Regions from separate parts of the Homo sapiens genome. Here region 2 is linked to region 1. The links are contacts of gene promoters, found by promoter capture Hi-C in blood cells and fetal thymus (Javierre and others, 2016). All regions are on one chromosome and are shown on one strand. Each heading gives the region's core, a stretch centred on a gene start or on the middle of the fragment in contact. The rest is flanking DNA. Distances are from core to core; before and after follow the strand shown.

What was found. The method cuts DNA at HindIII sites, captures the fragments that hold promoters and counts their contacts. A CHiCAGO score of 5 or more calls a contact.
Region 2: a contact is called between a fragment that was not itself captured here and the fragment with the promoter of DHX35 in region 1, in 4 of 17 cell types (neutrophils, total CD8 T cells, total CD4 T cells and 1 more). The highest score is 6.8, in neutrophils.

The regions. Positions count from the first base shown.
Region 1 is chr20:38,960,395-38,964,794 of GRCh38, forward strand. DHX35 (DEAH-box helicase 35) reads left to right here and starts at 1,950. Exons shown (of 22, transcript NM_021931.4): 1 at 1,950-2,013. The coding sequence starts at 1,974. RefSeq lists a silencer at 1,815-1,934 and an enhancer at 1,975-2,284. The HindIII fragment of the contact is 4,420 bases long and covers 1-2,967 here.
Region 2 is chr20:38,028,123-38,032,522 of GRCh38, forward strand. All of the region lies in intron 1 of TTI1 (TELO2 interacting protein 1), which reads right to left. Among named protein-coding and RNA genes, the nearest start is that of TTI1, 3.1 kb to the right of the region's middle. The HindIII fragment of the contact is 1,523 bases long and covers 1,008-2,530 here.

The DNA of each region.
Region 1 (4,400 bases), core at 700-3,199:
TAAAACTAAGCCTAAAGCATGATGTTTATCTATACATTACTCAATAGGCACTGTTATTGGGCTACGAATGTGAATGTGAATGTGAATGCTGACATGGTCCTTGTCTTCAGTAAGTTCCCTGTGTAATAGTGGCGGCAGGTAAACTACAGATCAACTAAAACTAAGCCTAAAGCATGATGTTTATCTACACTCAATAGGCACTTGTTACTGGGCTACGAATGTGAATGTGACATGGTCCTCGTCCTCAGTAAGTTCCCTGTGTAATAGTGGCGGCAGGTAAACTACAGATCAACTAAAACTAAGCCTAAAGCATGATGTTTATCTACACTCAATAGGCACTTGTTACTGGGCCACGAATGTGAATGTGACATGGTCCTCGTCCTCAGTAAGTTCCCTGTGTAATAGTGGCGGCAGGTAAACTACAGGCAACTAAACTACAGGTCACTTTTCTCACAAAAGTGAGAATACAGTTCCTAGACTACAAGGGGGAATGTTTAAGTTGGATAGATAATTTAGAGCTAGCCCTTTAAGGGATAAAGATAATTTAAAGGATGGATGGAGAATTCTAGGCCGAGGGACTAACAGATATTGAGTCCCTACATTAATTACTATAAAAATAAATCAAAGAAGATTCTTACATGAACCTATGCAGGTAAATTCAGATTTTTTTCCCCCTGGTGGATTTGCTCTGAGTTGAGGTAATGAGAGCTAACATTGATTCAGTGCCTGCTATGTTTTGCACTGTTAGGTACTTTACATGTTATCTCATGTAATACCTCTTTAAACCTCATTTTACAACTAAAATTAAATGACAGCTAGGAGCTAGGAAATGGCAAAGTTACGATTCCAAGTCTGGACTGGTTGTCCACAAAAGCCCCTGCTCTTGCCATAATGATGCCACTTCTTTCAAAGAATTCAGAATTTTCTTCACAGCTTTAAAAATGCATAGATTCTGAAGCCTCTCACTTCCTTCCAATTAGTTGCCTACCTAGAAAGTTATTTCCTCCACTTGAGCTCATCACCCCTTCTTAGCGCTCCTTTGGATTACTGTAATTTCTTTTTCTTTGACCTCACCTTTCGTCTGATGGATTAGTGTAATCTTTCCCAAATTTGTTAATCTGAAGAATTCAGGAGCTTCTCAAAATGCAGGTTCCCAAGCCATGCTCCAGGACATCGATTCAGAATTGGATCAAGGCCTAGAATCTGTGTTTTTAACAAGCATTTGACTCAAGGGTATCAAATTGGAGGAAGCACTGAGTTGGTGGACTACCTTAATTGATCTACCCATTTTCAGTCTCTTCTGCCAACCCATTCGCTCCACCCCACCCCCAGTCCGTTTTTCCGTTTTGCCCTCAAGGTCCCTGAAGACTTCCATATCATTTCGCATTGTTTTATTTGGGGCACTGTGCCGCACTACCTGGGCCCACAGCAGGCGCGCAATATTTACTGACAAATACAACCCACGAGGTAGTTCCTATTATTACCCTTCAATTTGAAATTGAGAATAAAACAGAAGTCGACAAGTTGAGGTAGCTTGTGACATCAGTATTTCGTATTTAATCCAGAAAGCACTGCTTCAACGCCCAGTGCGTGCAAGGTTCCACTCTCGGGCCAGCGGTCCTCTCCCAAAGCCCGTTCTTCCTAAGTGTGCGGCCGCCATCCAGGACACGCCACGCTCGTAAAAGGTCACCTGAAGCATCTACCCTCCACGCTCAAGAGGTAGGCGGAGGAGCGCGCCCTTTTCTCCAAAATGGCTGAGCAGGGTCACGTGGGCTCGGGGGCGGGGCCGGTGCGCTCGCCGGAGCCTGGAAGTGGGTCACGTGGCTCAGACGGGGGCGGTAGCTGTGGGGGCGTGGCCGTCACACGGCGCGATCCGTCTGGGCAGCGGCTCTTCGGGGGCCACGCCCTCCGGGCCCTGGGGGCCTAGCGCGCGACGGTGGGGTGGAGCTAGCCTCGTGACCTTTTACCCCAACATGGCTGCGCCCGTGGGACCGGTGAAGTTCTGGCGACCCGGTAAGGCCCTTGGTGGAACGCTGGGCAGATGCGGCGGCCTGACTTCGGTCTTGGCGCCGCGGCCGGCGCCCTGGGGCCAGCAGACCTGCTCGCAGGCCTGACCTCGGCGAGCTGGGCGCTGCCGCCTCTGTGCGGGGGGAGCTCTGGCTCAGGCTCCCCAGTGGTCCCGAGGGATTTGGGGGTGCTCCCCTAGCGTGAGCAGAAACTCTTTGTGACCTTGTTAAAGTGGTCCAGCCTCCTCAGGCCTCGTCTTCCTCGTTACTGATGCTTGTCCTGCCCACCCCGCGAGATGGGGAATCCTAAAGCTCCCTCTCGTGTCTCGTTAGCGCCCTGGGGTTGCGCTGTGGCCCGACAGACAATGCTGCTCGCTGCTGGAGGCTTGCAAGCCCAAGTTATGGAGTCAGACTGTCCGGGTTCGAATTTTCGTCTCTGCCTTGTAGTAGGGTGACCTTGGGCGAGTCACTTAATGCCTCTGAGCCATGACTTCTTTACCTGTAAAGTGGGCAGAACAATAGCTTCTATGCTGTGGGCTTAAATGACAAGCAGAACGCGTTGTCAGACTTAGAATAAATGCTCAAAAAAAGGGAAAGTGTGTTATTTTCTTTTAGGATAATTGTTGTCCACTCCGAATGTCTACTAGAAAAGGGAACAGTCCTTCATATTGGCTGCCAGCCACTTCCTCTCTTACAGACTAACACGAATCACAATCACAAAATGCTTTACTTGTTTTGTCTTGATATTTACTCATTAATCAGGTTTTTACTGAATGTGCATATGCCAGACCGTACTAGATGCATTACTTCCTCTCTGCAAACAGTTTCTTGTAAAAAACAAAAGTTTTTAAATTACAGCTACCAGCTTGATTTTTTTCTACCACCTGCACCCCTGCAGGTCTGGATGTGCAAAGTATATTGCAGCAAAAATGAAATGACACCAAGAATGTAATATAAGCAAAGCTTTTAATTTTTCAGTGGTTCTCTGAAATTCTGACCATGCATATAAGTGATGTGAGAGATAAACCCAAGCAAGAGATATGTTTAATGCTTTTTAAAAATTTGTAGTCTGTCACTTGACAGTTTTATGGTTCAGCATTTCAAGTCATCAGCCAATTATCCATCCTGAGTTTTATTTGCATCCAAAACTAGGAACTTACTAAGTAATGAATACTTTTAATTTATTCACGCTTTTAGTAACAGGTGAAAGTGTTAGGTATAATAAAGAGCTGAATTAATTGTTTGAAATCAGACCAGGGTACTATTTTGGTTAAAGAACGTGGAATTACTCTTAAGAGTTCTATTTCATTATTTAGTTCATCCATTGAGGGTACACTTATTGAAAACCTAATCCTGTGTTCAGGAGACAAATACAGATGCTCAGGGCTCTGCTCTCAAGTTACTGTCTCTCTCTTAATTGAATATAAAGTTAGATGTCCTCTAGAAGAGATTTTACAATGAGACAGAGTAAGGTGGTGGTAAAGAAGATGAGCTCTAGAGTCAGACTGCAGTGCCCATCATGTCTACCACTTACTAAGTTGATGACTTGATAGTCACTTAAATTCTCAAAGTCTCAGTTACTCCATCTGTAAATTGGGTATAATACCTACCCTACCCAAAGTAGTGTTGTGAGGTTTAAATGAGAATAACACACAACAGGATCTTGGCACTAGATAGGTTACTATTATAATTATATGGAAGTATGGAAGAGGGAGGGAAAGTTGAATGTATGGATAAGAAATACTTCATTAAGGTGGTATTTTTGGAGTGAACATTAAAGGATGAATAAGGTTTTGTTTCATAGAGAAATGGAACTCGAAGCAAAGGGTGCAGCATGAACAAAGGCAGAATGGGATTTGTGCCTTTAGAATGTCCAGAAAGCCAAAATAACAGAGCAGTGTGATAGTGTTAAGTGCTAGGGTATATTTTGGGGTATGACAGGAGATGAAGCTAGAAAAGTAGGTAAGGGCCTCATTGTGAAAGGTCTTCATGACAAGTTAAAAAGTTTAGACTTCACTGTTTTTTTGTTTTCTTTCTTTTTTTTTTTTGAGATGGAGTCTGGCTCAGCCGCCCAGGCTGGAGTGCAGTGGCGCAATCTCGGCTCACTGGAACTTCCACCTCCCAGGTTCAAGCGATTCTCCTGCCTCAGCCTCCTGAGTAGCTGGGACTACAGGTGTGTGCCACCACACCTAGCTAATTTTTGTATTTTTAGTAGAGATGGAGTTTCAGCATGGTGGCCAGGATGATCTCAATCTTTTGATCCCGTGATCTGCCCACCTCGGCCTCCCAAAGTGTTGGGATTACAGGCGTGAGCCACTGGGCCTGGCCTGACTTCAGTGTTTTTAAGCAGGAACAAATCAGGTTTACTTTAGAAAGATAACACTGGCAGTGGAG
Region 2 (4,400 bases), core at 519-3,018, 930 kb before region 1:
TCAATCCACAGTTGACTGAATCTACAGAGACGGAACCCATGAATATAGAGGGTCAACTATAATTGTATTAAGCATAAAAGGTCTAAATACATCAATTAAAAGATTGAGATTGGCGGAGTGGATTTAAAAACATGATCTAACTACACGCTGTCTATAAGAAACTCACTATGCAGAATTATAGAGGCTGATTGAAAATCAAAGGATGGAAAAAGATATTATCATGTAAGCATTAATCAAAGGAAAGTAGAAGTAGCTATATTAGCACCAGATAAAGTAGACTTCAGAGCAAAAGAAAAAAAATTACCAGAGACAGAGTACAATGAATAACAGGTATATCTACTAAGAACATACTGCAATCTTAAAATGTATATGCTGTAAAATGTGTGAAACAAAAATGGATAAAACTAAAAGGAGAAACAAATTCACAATAGATGGTGGTGACTTCAATATTCCTCTCTCAACAATGGATAGGATAACTAGACCAAAAATCCACAAGGATATAGAAAAACCACCACCATCAACCAACAGGACCTATGACATTTATAGAACACTCCATCCTACAATAGCAGACTACACATTCTTTTGTTGTTGTTATTTGTTTTTTTAGACAGGATCTCACTCTATTGCTCAGGCTGCAGTGCAGTGGCTCGATGATGGCTCACTGCAGCCTCAATTTCCTGAGCTCAAGCAATCCTCCCACCTCAGCGTTCTGAGTGGCTGGGACTCCAGGTGCATGCCACTATGCCCAGCTAATTTTTGTATTTTTTAAAGACCGAGTTTCGCCATGTTGCCCAGGCTGTTCTTGAACTCCTAGGCTCAAGTGATCCTCCTGCCTTGACCTCCCAAAGTGTTAAGATTACAGGCATGAGCTACAGTGCCTAGCCCACATTCTTTTCAAGTGCTCATAGAACATAAGACAGATGATTATCCTGCCATAAAACAAACCTCAACAAATTTAAAAGAACTGAAATCATACAGAGTGACATTCCCCAGCCACAATGAAATCAAGCTTGAAATCACTAACACAGAGATAACAGGAAAATCTCCAAATACTTGGAAACTAAACAACATGTTTCTAAATAATCCACGGAACAGAGAGGAAACCTTAAGGGAAATTAGAAAAAAAATAGGGAAATGAATGAAAATGAAAATATGACACACCAAAATCTGTGGATACAGCTATAGCCATGCTGAGATGTAAATTAATAGTACTAAGTCATATATTAGAAAAGGGGAAAAGTCTCAAACGAAAAAGGTAAACTCCTACCACAAGAACCTAGACAAAGTAGAGCAAAATAAAGCAAGCAGAAGAAATAATAAGGAGCAGAAACTGACAAAACTGAAAACAGAAAACACAGAAAGTCAATGAAATAAATAACTGGTTCTTTGAAAAGGTCAATAAAATTGACAAACTTCTAGCAAGATTGACAAGGGAGTGAGTGAGCAAGAGAGAGAGAGAGAGAGAGAGGAGAGAGAAGAGACGAGACACTGATACTGGAAATTTCCAATATCAGTAATGAAACGGGACAGTACTACAGACCCTGCAGACATCAAAGGGTAATATGGGAATGCTATGGTTTGAATATCCGTCCCTTCCAAAACTCATGTTGAAATTTAATTCCCAATGTATTGAGAAGTGGAGTCTTTATAAGCCCTCATAAATGGATTAATGGGTTATCATGGGAACTGGTGGCTTTATAAGAGCAAAACAGACCTCAGCTAGCACACTCAGCCCCCTGGCCCTGTGATATCCTGCACTGCCTTGGGACTCTGCAGAGTCCCCACCAGCAAGAAAGTTTTTTACCTGATGTGGCCCTGTGACCTTGGATTTCTCAGCCTCCATAACTGTAAGAAATACATCCTTTTTCTTTATAAATTACCCAGTTTCAGGTATTCTGTTATAAGCAACAGAAAACAAAGACAGGGAATACCACAAATAGCTTTACCCATATAAATTTGACAACTTTGATGAAGTGGTTAATTCCTCAAAAAACACAACCACAATAGGAAAGAGATTATTTTAACAGCTTTATAACTTTTAAATAAACTGAATTTGTCACTTAAAAACTCCAGAAAAAAAAGGAAGAAGGGAAGGAAGGGAGGGAGGGAGGAGGGAGGAAGGAGGAAGGAGGGAGGGAGGGAAGCAGGGAGTGGAGGGAATCTCCAAACCAAGATGGTTTCATTGGAGAATTCCGCCAAACATTTAATGAAGAATTAACACCAATTCTGCACATACTCTTCTAGAAAAAGAAGAAACACTTTCCAATCCATTTTATAAAGCCAGTATTATCCTGATACCAAACCAAAGGCAATACAAAAATTAAAAAAATCTATAGACCAATTTCTCTCATGAGTATAGATGCAAAAATCCTAAAGAAAATATTAGGAAATTCAGCAGTATGTAAAACACACACACACACACACACACACACACACACACCATGATAAAGTGGGGTATATTTCAGAGATGCAAGACTGGCTCAATATTTGAAAATCAATTAGAGTTGTTAATACTAACAAGCTATTAACAAGCTTAAGAAGAAAAATCACATAATCATATCATCCTCACCTTTCAGACCTCTATATGTTGAAGAATCCTAGGACTCAGTCTCTTTTTACACCTTATTCCGTTATGACTCTCACATTTTTATCTCTAACCCAGATAGCTCTTCCTTGAATTCCAGACCCATAAACCCAACTGCCCCTTAGACATCTATACTCAGATAGGCATTTCCAAATGGACATGTCCAAATACAAATGCTTGCTCTTACTCTCCAAACCCACTCTTTTCTGTAATTCAGTAAATGGAAGCGCTATTCTTATAGTTGCTTAGGCCAAAACCCTTGGAGCTATCTCAACTCTCATATGTCTTTCACACCCCATATCCAATCTATCAGCGGATCCTGTTACCTCTTCCTCTAAAATATCCCCAGAACTGTCCCTTTCTTACCACTTCCACAGATACCACCCTGGTTTGAGTTATCCTTTCACCTGGGTTACTACAACAGCTGCCAAACTGGTCCTTCCTGCTTCTACCTTTGCACTCTTACTGTCTTATTTTCTACCTAACAGCCACAATGCTCCTTCTTTGTGCAAAACTGCCCAGTGGACTTCATTTCATTCAGAGTAACATCTAAAGTCTATACTATTGCCTACAAGTCACCATGTGATGCAGTCCCTTCGTACTTTTCTGAACTAATTTCCAGCCACCCTTCTAGTTCATATCACTCCAGCTTTATTGTCCTCTCTGCTGTTGCTCCAAAATGCCAACAATGGTATAAACTTGGTTTTCCCTCTTCCTGGAACAATGGCATATGGCTTGTCTCTCAAATGACATCTTATCAATGAGGCCTTCTCTGAGAAGCATAAGTAAAAGACTACCCACCTACACATATACATTCCTTATCCTCCTTATCTCCTTGATTTTTATTGAAGTTACTTACCACTTTCTGACTTATTCTAAACTTGCATGTTTGTTTTTCTATCTTTCTCAGTAGAAAGTAAGTTCCTGAGAACGTGGATTTTGTCTGTTAGCTTAGAAGAGTGCTTTGGACATAGGTGCTGAAAAATTATTTTCCGAATGAATGAATAAACTATTGGTTCAGGAGGCAAGAATTTGGGATCAGACATAAGATAACCCTAATTTGACTCCTGGCTCTGCTATTTCCTAACTATGTCCAAGTACATAGGGTACTTAACCATGCTTTACATTTTCTCGTCTATCAAATAGTGATTGTAATAATTTCAACTCCTAAGACTGATGTAAGAATTAAATTTAAAAAGTATGTAATGTGCTTAATAGACAGTGACTTGGTATAAAAGTGCTCAGTATATGACAGTGTTATTAATATGGAAAGATGATCTAGATTTCGACACAAAAGCCCTCAGTTATGACTAGATACTCACTGTATGATTTTAGGTTACTCACCTCTTTTACACTAACTCACTTGATAAATCAGGAACTGGGGCCAAAAAGATGGCTAAGTTGCAGCCCCTTCCCTCAAGTCTTAGTAATGTGATCTTGGGTAGGTCACTTAACCTCTCTGAGCCTGTTTCCTACGCTGTCCAAAGGGGGATAATATAATACCTCACAGCTTTGTTGTGAGGATTAAATGAGTTACTGTGTGGGAATTGTGTCTAGCACATAGTAACCTCTCACTGCGTTAGCTATGATTATGATTCCAGTCTGGAGGAAGGGTAAAAGCATGTAAGCAAAGAACTGCAATACAGTGCAATAAGAGCAAAAGCAGGCATCAACTAGAAGAACGTCTCCTAAACTAGAGTCTGCCCACAACTAGGAAGTTATACCACGATCAGGAAATTTTAAAACCCTCTTATGTCTATAACTTAACTCCCTACCATCACCCCCGTGGCAGTAAGAAAAACAAAATTTCTCTGCT